3 separate regions of the Homo sapiens genome follow, and regions 1 and 3 are each linked to region 2. Evidence: promoter capture Hi-C in human tissues and cell types (Jung and others, 2019). All regions are on one chromosome and are shown on one strand. Each heading gives the region's core, a stretch centred on a gene start or on the middle of the fragment in contact. The rest is flanking DNA. Distances are from core to core; before and after follow the strand shown.

Region 1 (4,888 bases), core at 748-3,247, 42 kb after region 2:
GTGGGGACCCTGGAACTTCCCCTCTCTGGCCCCAGCCCACTGTGGCTGTCTGGTCCTGTGGACAGCCCTTTCCATTGCTCTGGGGCTCGGCTGTCATTTCTCCTAAGTTGATACCATTGTGACTGTATCAGTTTAATTCCCTAACCATCTTTCTTCATGGAAAGACATATGCACTTTTAATTCCAGACTGCTCTAAGTAATCATCCTGTTTCTGTAAAGAGTCATAACGGTTGTACTTCCTGTACAATGTGCCGTTTGGGTCATTCCTCTGAGCTTGAAGCTCTTTGACAATTGAATATGTATCTTTGGATTCCAGACATGTTAAATTACACAATGCCTCCCATTTCCTCTTTTTAAATCTTGACTTCCATGCGGTTAAAACAGGAACTGGGGTTATACCATGCATTTTTTGAACTTCTGCATTGTTAAGTTGTCCCAGAACTTAGTTATATTTTAAAATGCCATTGTGCATTGTTTAAAATGTGGTGATATTCACCGAGTTTTGGTTAATGTTTACAAACACCTAATGTCCATCAAATACCATTAAATTAGCATTGTGTGGTTGTATTGTTTCAGGGGCATAGTTCTAAACTAGACTTGTGTTTATTCTGTTTCTGCAAACTGATTTTTTTTTTTTTTCAGATGTAGTCTCACTCCGTGGCCCAGGCTGGAGTGCAGTGGTGCGATCTCAGCTCACTGCAACCTCTGTCTCCTGGGTTCAAGAGATTCTCCTGCCTTGGCCTCCAAGTAGCTGAGACTACAGGTGTGTGCCACCATACCCGGCTAATTTTTGGATTTTTACTAGAGACAGGGTTTCACCATGTTGGCCATGCTGGTCTCCTGACCTCAAGTGATACACCTGCCTTGGCCTCCCACTGTTGGGATTACAAGCATGAGCCACTGTGCCTGGCCTGCAAATGGCTTTTTAAACATCTTTTGATACAATCGAAGATCCCAATGAAGATGTAAAGTATTTGAACTGGAAGACGTGGGTCAGAGACACAGTTTGCTGTCACTAAGGTCCCTTTGCATCCACTTTATCCCTTTATGCTGAGCCTGAGCAAACAGGACAAACGTAAAAAATGATTGTAATTTCTAGAATAAGTTAACAGTTTTTGTCACTAATTTTGCCAAGATCCCAACCAGCTATTTAGCCAGTTGTTTGGAGGAGGTTTTGGCTCTGAAAGGTTGGTTTATGTGGATTTCACATCAGCCATGAATTTAGTGATGTTATTTGGTTTATCTGGGATACAGACACAGCTTTTAGTTTTACGATAGCACAGGTTACCCTCGAGCTGCGGTGAGTATGTCTAAAGCCATATGGTTTTATAATACAGATTTTCTCAGGTAAGTTTATCATTTAATCATGAGATACCTGGCTATATCTTAAGGCCTTTTGTGTGTAACTGGTGAGGGCCTCTACGTGTCAAGTAACGCCTTCAATACCCAGTTATGGCAGAAAGACAGAAGCTAAATGATGATACCAATGGAATACAGGATGAATCTGACAAGACTGTAGATGAGGAAGATTGGTGAGTGTGAAACGGTATGAAATATTTGACCTTGTGACCGGCATAACCCAAAGAACACTGTCCCAGCTGTCCCAGGGTATCACCTTCTGGTACAAGAGCCCATTTCGGAGGCTCAGTTTTCTTTGTTTTTGAGATGGAATCTCACTCTGTCACCAAGGCTGGAGGGCAGTGGCACAATCTCGGCTCATTGCAACCTCTGCCTCCCGGGTTCAAGCAATTCTCCTGCCTCAGCCACCTGAGTAGCTGGGATTACAGGTGCGCCACCATGCCTGGCTAATTTTTATATTTTTAGTAGAGATGGGATTTCACCGTGTTGGCCAGGCTGGTCTCGAACTCCTGATCTCAGGTGATCCACCTGCCTTGGCTTCCCAAAGTGGTGGGATTATAGGAGTGAGCCACCGCGCCCAGCCGAGGCTCAGATTTCTTTAGATGGGAGATGTGAATTCAAGGGTCGTCTTCTAATTTTATGGTGAAGGCTGGTCAGGAGTACCTGATAAGGTCCATAGCAGGTTGCAGAGACTTTTTAAAAAATGTCATTTCCAATAGACAAAATCTCCTGGTTGAAGTCTGTGGTCCTTGAAATTTTTGTTTCCCAGGAGCTCACTGTGAAAAGATTATTTTTGCCAATTATAATTTTTCATTAATGTTTTGCAAGGGCACTGCAATAGCTGAATATGTCTCCCTTTAATATCATAGACGTACAGTTTCTTGGAGATAATTTCATGGGTCTGCCTAATTTTTAGCAGAGATAACTGGTGTTTACCTAAAGGGGTCGACCTCTGATTAAGCAGAACCAGTAGAAGAACTTCTGACCAAGGAATTTGAAAAGCCTTGGTTAATTTTGCCAACTGAGTTTTGATTATTCCATTGGTGCATTTCACTAACCCAGATGACTGGGTGTGGTAAGCGCAATGGAAATGCTGGAGGATGGGCCAAAGTTTACATACTGATTGAATCATCCGTCCAGCGAAGTGAGTTCCTCTATTGCTACAAGTTCCAGAGGAACTCCCCAGGTTGCAATACCTTTTTCTACAGCAATTTTACTCACTGCTAAGGCAGTGCTCTTCTGCATGGAAATGCCTCTGCCCAGTGAGAAAACAAGTAAATTGTTATCAGAACATGTTTGTATGTTTCTGAGGGTGGCAACAGCATGGCATCTAATGGTCATAACTCACAAGGGCCTCGGGTAAAGGGAAATGTCCTTATAATGGTTTTCCTGGATTATATTTTAGGGAACTGTGGCAATGATTGTCTGTTTCGATCTTTGTGTTTGTAGAAAGCAAAAAGTTCCTCTTCAAAGTTTCCCTTCTTGTTAAAGAGTAAATCATAAGTGTTAAAAATAATAGTTTCTTTTAAAAACTAACTTCCTTCAAGCCTCCTGGCTTCGTGCTAATAACTGCTCGTTAAGCTCTAGCCTGTGTAGCTGTTACACTTGCTCACGGGCACGTAGTACATTCTATGTCCTTGAACCTTAACCAGGATATTTGTGCTGGACCTGCCCACAGGCACATTCCAGCTCGCAGCCTATGCCCCTTCCCTATTTGGTATTAAGCAACTTCCTCTTTTCCTTTGTCTTTCCATTACTTTTACCTATTTAGAAAAGTTTTAAACTGTTAGCCAATCGGGTTTTAGTTTAGATTGTGAGGTCTGGCTCCAGCCAATGGAGACAGGACACAGTAGCAGGGCCAAACAGCGGCAGGGATGAAAATGGCTTCCCTCCTTTGTTCAGGTGTGCTCTCGCCATTGTTCCATCTGTGATGAGCACCCCTTCTGCAGAAAGTAAAAATGGCCTTGCTGAGAGAATTAAATTTATGTTCGAGTGCTGTGTCTTTGCAGCACTTGGGAACAAGCATTCTGTTTCTAAATAACAATTTTTACATATAACAGTGTTTTAGGAACCCCTAAAGCATCTCCACCACTTTCATGTATTATACAAATAATAGAATGGAAGGTTATAATTTGTATGCCCCAAAGGCGGAGCATTAGCAAGGTCACGTTTGATCATTTCAAATGTTGGTGTATTTTCTTCTGACCACTCTAAAGTCCTGGCATGTCCTGTTTTTAGAGAGCGTATAAGGACTGAGCTTTAAAGAAAAGTTTGGGATCCAATTTCTATAATATCCTGCCAGTCCTCCACATCCTTTTGTTTCTTGGTTGTTGGTGGTGGAAAGCTAAAATTCCTTTCAGTCTATCTAGATTAGTAGAAAGTCTTTCTTTAGATATTAAGTGGCCCAAGTACTTTGTTTTTTATAAAATTGAGGTTTTTCTTTAGGAATTTTATGTCCCTTTAGGGCTGTTGTAATGAATGTATCCCATCTTCTATAAAAGCTTTGCTTATCTTCTGAGCAAAGGAGTAAACTGCCCATGTATTGTAATAAAAAATTTTTTTTAAGAACAAGTCAAAAGACTGGGCCCAGTGCCTCGCGCCTGTAATTCCAACACTCTGGGAGGTTGCAGTGGGCGGATCACCTGGGGTTCAGAGTTTGAGACCAGCCTGACCAACATGGAGAAACTCCATCTCTACTAAAAATACGAAATTAGCCAGGCATGGTGGCGCATGCCTGTAATCTCAGCTACTCGGGAGACTGAGGTGGGAGAATTGCTTGAACCCGGGAGGCAGAGGTTGCAGTGAGCCGAGGTAGCGCCATTGCACTCCAGCCTGGACAACAAGAGCGAAACTCCGTCAAAAAAAAAAAAAAAAGAACAAGTCAGTATGTAAGACAACTGTCTTTGCATCAGTTGGACTCTCAGTGTAGCCCTGAGCATGGCTGTCTGTGTGTATTGTCTGCCTTCCCAAGTAAAGGTAAAGAGAAATCAACACTTTCACACACAGAACTACTGAAGGATGTGCTAATAAGTCCACTACACTAAAGGACTTTGATCGGGGTAGCCAAGAGGATTCTTCCAGTATCAGTGGAAGACTCTGACCATATTTGATCAAGTACTGCCTTTAGTAGGTTTTGTAATTCTTCATTATTCAATAATTCAGTGTCTTCTAGGGCAATTAGGGATCGCAATTGGGTTAGATTTTGAAACTTTTTTTATGTCTAGTAACTCAGCTTTCTCATCTAATTCTAAATACGTCTTCCCCCTTTGGGAGAAAGAAACGTGGATATTGTAATTCTAAGAAGTCTCCTTTTATAAGATGGCTGGCAGCTGATAGAACCAGAAGGAAAATGTGAGTCCCTTGTAAAGGACCTAGTTGAAAAGCTATAGGCTGAGATTTACGTGCCGTTACAGGCGTATTAGTGACACCTACCCTTTGAACTTTTTTTTGACTCCAAGGAATGGAACCTTGTAACAAGATGGGATTTATTACAGAAAACACGGCTGCTCTATCAGCAAAAGCTTATGTC
Region 2 (4,566 bases), core at 171-2,670:
TGAATTGTTAGCATATATACTTAGATATTTTCTATCAAAATGCCCACTGACAAGCATCTATATTCCTCCCCAGATAGGATGGAACGGCAATGTGCTCCCTGGCCCCTCCCAACCCAGTCCTCTAGGCGTTTTGTTTCACAGCGTTAATATTCTTACCACTATTTTTTAAATCAACAGGTTATGACATCATAATTTTTACTTATTTCTTTGCCCAACTTTGTATCATCTGCTCTTGTATTTCTCATGGATTTCTTCATGTCTATTTCTGCAAGACATCTTTAAAACAGAGTTTAGGAGCCGGGAGCCATGGCTCACGCCAGTAATCCCAGCACTTTGGAAGGCAGAGGTGGATGGATCACTTGAAGCCAGGAGTTCAAGACCAGCCTGGTCAACATAGTGAAACCCTGTCTCTACTAAGAATACAAAAATTACCCAGGCGTGGTGGTACATGTGCCTGTAATCCCAGCTACTTGGGAGGCTGAGGCAGGAGAATTGCTTGAACCCGGGAGGCAGAGGTTGCAGTGAGCTGAGATCACGCCACTGCACTCCAGCCTGGGTGACAAAAGCAAAACTCTGTCTCAAAAAAAACTGAAAACATAAAAATAAATAAATAAATAAAACAGAGTTTAGGGTAGTAATGTGTCTGAGTCCTTGCTCTGAAGATGTCTGATTTGGGTTTTTTTTCTAGGTATAATCTCTTTCCCTCCTCTTCCTCCTCCTCCTCCTCTCCCTTCTCTCTCTCTCTGAGCCTGTAGTATTTTCCCTTTCGTGTTCTGTGGTATCCTCCTAATGTCCCTAGTTAACAGGACCTCATCCATCCATCCCTGGGGTGTTCAGTGGCCTCGCAATCCACGTCCCCGCCCAGATCCGCAGCCTTCCTCCTGTGACCTGAGTGTCTCCTCCTCGCTGTCCCTGTTCTGTCCCCTCCCGCCCTCACATGCAGGTGGATGTCAATGCGTGCACGCACCCAGGTTTTCTTGCCTGTTCCCACCTCTTTATCCTCCTTGGCTGGTTCCTCCGCTCCATTCTCTGGCTCAGGAATTTGCTCCCCAGGGTTTTTCATTCCGCTCTGTAGCAGAATGTGCTACTGTTGCTTTCCAGCATCAAACTTTTCACTCCCATGGCCTCTGTGTTCTTCTTCCTAATGGGTGCCCTTTCTGCCTGGCGCTCCTGGAGGCCGGGCCCCTCTCCCAAGTGTGAATCTGATGGAAGCAGGTCCTTCTCGCCGGGACCTCATGTGAGAAATGACATGTCCCACCTGTCTCAAGGGGCCGCTCTCTGACATCAGAGCTGCTGTAGAGCGGAGAGGGGCAGGGGTGAAGGGCCACGGTGGTGCAACCCACCACTTCCTCCAAGGAGGAGCTGAGAGGAACAGGAAGTGTCAGGACTTTACGACCCGCGCCTCCAGCTGAGGTTTCTAGACGTGACCCAGGGCAGACTGGTAGCAAAGCCCCCACGCCCAGCCAGGAGCACCGCCGAGGACTCCAGCACACCGAGGGTGAGTGTGCAGAGGCCCCGCTATGTCCACGGTGATTTTTGGAGGGAAGCACTCTCCTGCCCCAGCCTGGAGTGACCCTGGTGGCCCTGCTTATAGCCCCGGCCCAGGGGTGTCTGGCAGGAAGGGGTCTCCAGACCGTCTGCTCCAGGGTCCCCTTTGAGACCCGGCAAGGGGAAGTGCCTGCCACCAAGAGCAGAGCCACATGGTGTGCTGGGAGCGCTTGCGGCTGAGGATGGGGCCGGCATGGGAGGACAAGGGGCTGTGAGGCCGGCAAGGCCAGGAAGAGGCTGGGCCCACAAGCCCCTAGGGGGACGGCTGGGGGGTCCTGGTGCTCCGGGCTGGGCAGGAGGCAGGTTCCCGGGGCCTCCTCTGTGAACCTGCTGCGCCTGCCTGTGTTAGGCCCTCCTGTCTGCATGCTGCCCCGCCTGGCTACAGCGATTCCATCTCCAGATCGACTCGCAGTGTGTGGTGTGTGATATGGTGTGGTGTGGTTCGTGGTGTGTAGTGTCGTGTGTGTAGTGTGGCATGGTGTGCATGTATGGTGCACGTGTGTGGCATAGCGTAGTGTGGTGTGTGTGTGTGCATGTATGGTGTGCGAGTGTGCGCATGTGATGTGGGGAGTCTGTTGTATGTACATGTATGGTGCACATGTGTAATGTAGTGTGGTGTGGTGTGGCACATGCTCCATGCTCCTCTGGGACCCTCGAGCTTCCCTGCCTCCTCCGTGGGGACCCCTGGGTGACGTCTTGCTGTAGGGGAGCGGGCACCGCTGTGCGATTCTGGTCGAGTTGGTTCAGCTGGTGACCCTGGCCTCCCCACAACAGGCTCCTGGAGGCCATTCCCAAGGTCCTGGTGGGAGGGGGATTGAAGCCACGCCCCTGGGTCCCAGGCCCACCTGGCCCCCTTCCCCCAACACTGCACTCTTGGGGCCAGCCCTCCCCATGCATCCTCCACCCCTGGCACCACCCCTTGCACCACCGTCCCCACACCCAATCCCCCCTCCCCTGGATCTGGGAGCTGGGATTCTGCCCTGCTGTCCCTGTCCATCCGGGGCCCCTCTCCTCTGTCAGTTCCTGGGTGGGGAGAAGGAGGGGTGGCATGGCTGCAATGGGGAAGGGGGGGGATGGCCGGAGAGCTCAGCCTGGGAGCGAGCTGTGGGGGCATAGGGGACACTCGCTGTCACTCGCCTTCCCCGTGACGGTGGCGCAACGCCTGCGGGTTTGGGGGCTGAGGCCGGATTCTGGAGGCTTCACAGAAATGAGCTGCTAGAAGCTCTGGGCTGTCTGCCGTCACCCCAGCGTTTCACCATGAGTGAAGCCCAGCTCACTGCAGAATCCATGCCCAGCTCACTGCAGAATCCCCGGGGGCCAGCACTTTACCAAGAGTGGCCTCCAGACTCCACATTTTAGGAAGGAACTCCTTCCCCATCCAGCTCACAGCAGAATCCCCAGGGTCCCTGCCAGCCTGGCACCCAGCGTGCCCCTCAGTATTCTGGGGATGAGTGGGGGAGTCCCTCTGCTGGGAAGAGGTCCCTGGCTACGTCCCTGCAGGGCGGCGGCTGAGCCCATGCCTCGGCCCCAGGGCCAGTCCCCGCCGGGTGCCATCCTGAGCAGGGCCACAGAACAGATGTCCCACATGGCCAGGACCCCTGTGGCCACCTGACCCCGGGGGGGCTGTGGCCCTCGGTGAAGCAGGTGACCGGGCGGGCTGTGGGGTTTGTCAGCTCCGCAGCGTCACTGCCGCTCAGCGTATGAGTTTCCACTCCCAGCACTCAATGAACAGCTGAGCAACTGCAGGTGCCTCCGAGTGCTGGGAGAGGGGAATGCTCAGCTCCGAGTGCTGGGAGAGGGGACGCTCAGCTCCGAGTGCTGGGAGAGGGGACGCTTAGCCACCCAAGGGCCTTTGCCTCAAGGGAGTAAATAGGGGCATTTCCTGGTGGGCGTGGGCTGGGCTGGAGAAGCAGGGCCTCCTGGCAGGGGCTGGCATGAGATCCAAACACTGCCCAGGCAGCTGGACACTCCTGAGCCTGGAGCTTCTCACCTGAACCACAGGGTGGTAACCCCTGCCCCTCAGGCGGCATCGACGTGACCTGCCTAGTGCACAGTGAGCCTGAGGCAACACGGCCACCACCAGGAGACTCCCTGGGGAAGAGGCCCCCAGACAGCGAGGTGCCCATGAAGGAAGTTCTGCACAGGGGCCGCGGCCATCCAGGAGATGGGAGGGGCCCTATCTGCACCCTGTCTGGAAGGGGCATGGGGTGAGCAGGCTATTTGGTCCCCCGTGACTCAGTTTCCCCATCTGTGAAACAGGAGGGGTGGTCTGGCCAATTGTGCGCACTCCAGCTGTCTCTATAGTCAACCGTGTAACTTGAACTCACTTCCCCAGGGCTCCTGCCAGGCCCAGGTCTGTCCACTCTGGCCCAGGCCGGGCCCCACCAGGTACCAGGGCTGTGGGACATTTGCCTCTGTGGATGGGGCAGCGTGACGCCTGTGGCGATTCCATGGAACAGGTCCTGTGTGGGCCCCCCTTGCTGCACTCGTGTCCTGTGTCAGAGAACCGTGGTCCTGCCTGAGGCCATGTCACCGGAGGCTGGCTCCCGTTCCCGGAGGAGAATGCCAGCTGCCACAGGGGTCAGTGACACAGGCATTTGCCCAGCAGGTACAGGCCAGGTCGCTGGGAAGCCCCAACTCAAGGGGCTCTGCAGTGGGCGCCTAGCAATTATGGAGCTGTGGGTGATACCCACCCCAAGCCGGACCTGGTGCCAGCAATTATCCCTCCCATTCTGCTTGGCACAAACTGGCACTGACACGGGGCATTGATTAGGTGGTTGCATTTGTCGATTCCGAGCCCATGTGTGTGGAGCCCAGGCCCTGAGCAAGCACAGAGGGCCCTGGTGCTGTCCTGAGCTGAGGCCCCTGCCCACCCCGGGCTGCGTGTTCTCTCCGGCCATTCAGGGTCTGAGAGTGCAGAAGAGTTAGCCCCAGGGGAACACCTTCCTGCCCAGCTGATTTGTAAACAGCCTCGCTGGGGACACATGTTGGTGTTGGGAGTGGTGGAGGTTTCTGTGT
Region 3 (4,775 bases), core at 1-2,500, 41 kb before region 2:
CCGGCTACTCAGAAGGCTGAGGCAGAAGAATCGCTTGAACCCAGGAGGTGTTGCTTGCAGTGAGCCAAGATCGCACCACTGCACTCCAGCCTGGCGACAGAGCAAGACTCTATCTCAAAAAAAAAAAAAAAGAAAGAAAATGAACAGGCAAGTCACAGTCTGGGAAAAACATCTGTAAAACACATATCCAACCAAAGACTGGACTCTAGGACAAAGAACTCTTAGAGCTCAATAATAAAAAGACAAAAAGCCTCATGAAAAATGAATTTCACTGACGCTGAAACACAAATGGACAGTAAGCACATGTAAATGCTCTTTTGGTGGCAACGGAAATGAGTACCACCGTGAGATACCATTTCATGATTACCAGACGGCCGAGGCTGAGGAGACGGCAGGCCATGTGTTGGCAAAGCTGAGGGCCAGGAGAACTCTCACAGGCTCTGGTGGGAGTGTGAGTGTACAACCACTCTAGAAAAGCGTCTGGCAGCTGCTTATAAAACTAAACATACACCTACCCTATGACCCAGCATTCCATTCCTCAGCACTTACCCAAGAGAAACGAAAACATGTCCACAAAAAGACTTGTAAAGAATGTTCAGAGCAGCCTTATTCACAGTAGCTAAAAATGGAAAAAAGCCCAGGTGCCCATCAGCAGGAAAGTGAGTAACAAATGGTGTATTCATACAATGAAATACTTCTCAGCAATCAAAAGGCATGGACTGCTGCTACATGCAGCCTGGATGGGTTTCAAAACCATTACGCTGAGCAAAAGCAGCCAGATGCAGAAAGAGTGCATCCTACATGATTCCATTTATACAGAGTCTAAGGCAAGAAAAGCTCAACTGTGGACGACAAAGGGTGACACAGCAGTTGTTACCTCTGGGGCCAGTGGGAGAGGTAATTGACTGGGGGGGTGCGTGACTGTCGGGGAATGGTGGTGATGGTCCATAACCTGAACAGGATTTCAGCTGCACAGGTGTCTACAACATTTGTCAGCAATCATTGAATGGCACACTTTAGATTTGCATTTCATTTTATGTAAATACAATCTTCAAAAGAAAAAGAAAAAAAAAGAACCATGAACTCTAGCAGAATTATTTGGGGTGGAGTGTACTGATGTCTGCCATTTACTTTGAAACGCATTTTTAAAAACCCATGTTGGTAGATGGACAGAAACTGCTAGATGAACGGTTATGTAATAAAGATTGTAAAATCTGTGTGGTGGGTACAGGGTATTCCCTATAAAATTCTTCCCACTTTCCTAAATAAAATTTTTCATAATAAAATACAAAGTAAAAGTAACTTGGGAAATGTAGCTAAAGCTGTATTTAGAGATAACTTACAGCCTTTCACTCCTGAACAAAACATATACAAACAGATAAGCAGAGTAACTGAAACCCAAAGAAAGCTAAAACGGGAGTGATCAAAATAAAAACAAATAATTTTGAAGACAAAAGAGTAGAATTGGTTATTAAATACATTAATTATTAAATGGAAGAGACAAAACTTCTTAATTTAATCAGAAATGAAGGTGGAGATACAAATAAAGAACGATAAAGAAAACAGAATATTTAATAAGAAGGCAACTAACATATGAAGATTGAGATCTGACTAAATTTGATCATTAACATTATTTAGAGACAAGGACCCACTCTGTCACCCAGGCTGGAGTGCACTAGTGCAATTACGGTTCACTGCAGCCTCAAACTCCTGGGTTGAAGCGATCTTCCTACCTCAGCCTCCTAAGTCGCTAGGACTAGAGGCTCAGAGGCATACACCACCTAATCTGACTAATTTTTACATTTTTTGTAGAGACAAGGTCTCGCTATATTGCCCAGGCTAGTCTGAAACTCCTGGGCGTAGGTGATCCTTCCATCTCAACCTTCCAAAGTGCTGGGATTACAGGCATGAGACACCATCCTCAGACAAATTCGATCATTTTATGAGTGGCCAAAATTGACTCAAGTTGTGAAAAAACAAAAAAAAAGGACCAAGTGCCATGGAATAAAATTTACACATCATCAAAGAATTACAGCCTAGAAAATCAGGGTCCAAATGGCCACAGTCCAGTAGCCCGTCCAAATCCACTTTCACAGCTATGCTAGGAACTGTGAAAAAGAAAATGGAGGAATGAATCATTTCCCTAAGAAATATCCAAAAAGGGATAGAAACCATAAAACTAATAATCACAAAAGAAACTGACAAAGTTTTCTAGGTCCTACCTCTGAAAAACATACATTTTCTTTAAAACCTCCAAGGAAAAAATAAAGCAGATAACATAAAAAAGAAAATATTCCAAATTAATTTCACAAAGTCAGCAGAATCACACTAAAAAGATAACCGAAAAATACAAAATAATTTTGACGAGAAACAATCTTAGAAAAACACTGGCAAATATCCAGCATCACGAAAAATAAGGAGATACTCCAAAACAACCTGAGTGGGAAGTGTGGCTTTCAGCCTGCGGAGACGTGCAGCTGGGAGCACGTGGCAAGGCTGACCTCAGAAAAGAGGGAGCCACAGGCCTGAAAGGGTCTGGGGACACCAGGGGCCCTGCCCACACCCACGCCGCTATGCGCAGACACTGTTTTCACCGCGGGCAAGGCCTGGAAGGATTTCACATACCACTGCAGGCACTTCTGAACCATAAAAACTCCACGAGCACAGGTTACTTCCACAATAAAAAATTTCACGGTGGGGAACAAAAATAGGTAATTTTTACAAACAAGGAGCCGAGAGCAGCAGCTTCCCAAGGCCGTCCTCCAAAGGGAGGCAGCCCAGCTCTGCAGGTGCCCACACGGACGGGGTGGCAGTGCCATCCACAACAGGCCAGACCAGCTTGGCCATGCTGCCAAGTCTTCATGGCCAACCTCTCTGTGCCTCCACTGTCCTTCGGCCCCCACAGCAGCCTCTGAAGTGTCTTGGGTGATCCCCTTGGGCACTCCTCGGGGAGTGTGGCTGATGTAGAAGGCCAGATGTGAGGCTGTAGGAATAGGAGGGCCCACGGGATGGGACTTGGGCCGGCAGCTGCCTCAAGACGCAGGCATGGACTTACTCTGCAACCATTGCTCACGCCTCAGCTTCATTTTCTCCTTCTTGGGCAAAACGGTCTTGGCCTCTGCACCTGAGGAAAGAGAACACGGGAGTGAGCAAAACGTGTCCAGGTGGCACTCCCATGACCTGAGAATGGGCTGGGGCGGGTCCTGACTGCAGAGCTGCCACAGTCACTGCAACTGGTCTGGCCTGTGCCAGCCTCTCAGACTCCCGGCTCTGGACAGCACCAGGGGCACCTGCAGCATGCCTCGGCCCGGCCTCAGGAGGCTCTCTCAGCAGCGTCCCCCCGCAGTGATGGCCTGGCCACTCACCCCAGCCTGCCCCGGAAAGCAGGTGTCCCAACAAGGAGGCCTCCTCCCCACTCATGCCCCGAATGACTGTCAGGGCAGTCATTGCAGTGAAGCCATGCAGGAATGCCCGACGGCTCATGAAGGGGGCCACGAACAGGACAGAGGCCCTTAGGGGGACATCCCCAAGATCCTGTGTGGTCACGTCAGGCCCAGCGACGTACGTGCTCCCTGCCCCCTGCCAGGCCCGACAATGTGCTCGGTGACCAGAGGCTTCATCCCTGGACCCCACAAAGCGGCCCTCTCAGGGAGCCTCCAAAAGTGAACTCCACAGGTGCCCCTGTGCTTGGTCCACGCGGAGCCCAGCCACCTGCCCGGTGGGCGGGGAAAGGAGGCTCATTTGCTGGGGGGACAGGGGCAGGGGTGGGATGAGCCTGCAGGGCCGTGCAGGTGGGGACAGGTGGAGAGGGCACTGGGTGCTGCGTCTCTGACTCCAGTTTGCTCTGAAACAGAGTGGACTCAAGGGCACCCCCATTTCCTCGGCCTTAACTGATTTCCCGAGACGGTTCAGCCTCGGCTGCATTCTCCCCAGAACACATCTCCCAGTATCTCTTTTAATTCATGCAGACCTTCCTGGCTTGTCCAACAAATCCACCATGTCTAATGAAAAACAAAGCAGAAGCAAGCCCTGCCTGGAGAAAGGCAGTCGCTGCGCTCTGCATTTCAGACTTCACTTCAGGAGCCGGTGTGAAACCTCCAAGGCCCAGGGCTCCCGCAGGATTTAATCCCCTCCCACAGCTTCCTGGTGTGCCTGGGTTGACCTACTTTCCTCCATAGCATCCCAACCTCTCCCTCCCGACCACAAAGGGGAGGGGCTGATTTTGCAGCTTTTCTGTAGTTTTGAAATTGTTTCAAAAGAAAAATGAATCTAAGACCAGTGGAAACTGACCCGAACAGTGACCTGTGTTGTGTTGGAATGAAGAAAACGAGGCCTGGGCGCAGGCCAGGTCAGGAACACAGCACAGTGATCCTTCCCGGCTCTGGCCCCAGGGAGCTCCCCAGCCCCATTGCCATGGCACCAGGACAACAGGAACCAAACACGCTGCTCCTGCAGGAGGAGAGGGCTTGGAATGCTGCAGCTGGAGCAGAGGCCGCCTGGAACTGCTGGCGGCGGCCCCACGACCCCCAGCTCCCGCCGCTTTCCGGGCCCAAGGCGCCCTTGCTGAAGTGCTCCGGCACAGGTTCACGCCTGCTCCCCCTTCTAGCCTCTGGATGGGCTGACGGGTGTTCACTGAGATCCAGTCGGTGCCGCGGGCTACGGAGGGGGCTCGCCCTGTGGGTCCTGATTCCCTCTCCCCCGCAGGCCCAAGGCCACATGGACAGGGCAGGTGGGCGCACCCCACCCTGTGGTGGGGACAGTGTGAAGTCCGCTCG

The links. The method cuts DNA at HindIII sites, captures the fragments that hold promoters and counts their contacts. A contact is called where the count stands out against the background at its distance.
Region 1: a contact is called between a fragment that was not itself captured here and the fragment with the promoter of ITGB2 in region 2, in 12 of the 25 tissues and cell types used here (H1 embryonic stem cells, IMR-90 fibroblasts, bladder and 9 more).
Region 3: a contact is called between a fragment that was not itself captured here and the fragment with the promoter of ITGB2 in region 2, in 2 of the 25 tissues and cell types used here (mesenchymal stem cells and spleen).

What each region holds. Positions count from the first base shown.
Region 1 is chr21:44,876,470-44,881,357 of GRCh38, reverse strand. No RefSeq gene overlaps it. Among named protein-coding and RNA genes, the nearest start is that of PTTG1IP, 5.2 kb to the right of the region's middle. The HindIII fragment of the contact is 4,746 bases long and covers 1-4,370 here.
Region 2 is chr21:44,917,753-44,922,318 of GRCh38, reverse strand. It overlaps ITGB2 (integrin subunit beta 2), which reads left to right and starts at 1,420. Exons shown (of 16, transcript NM_000211.5): 1 at 1,420-1,498. It overlaps ITGB2-AS1 (ITGB2 antisense RNA 1), which reads right to left and starts at 1,284. Exons shown (of 3, transcript NR_038316.1): 1 at 992-1,284. RefSeq lists a silencer at 2,770-2,829 and an enhancer at 3,913-4,566. The HindIII fragment of the contact is 46,650 bases long and covers 1-4,566 here.
Region 3 is chr21:44,958,449-44,963,223 of GRCh38, reverse strand. SLX9 (SLX9 ribosome biogenesis factor) reads right to left here. Exons shown (of 6, transcript NM_058190.4): 3 at 3,056-3,124. Among named protein-coding and RNA genes, the nearest start is that of SLX9, 21 kb to the right of the region's middle. The HindIII fragment of the contact is 4,593 bases long and covers 1-3,546 here.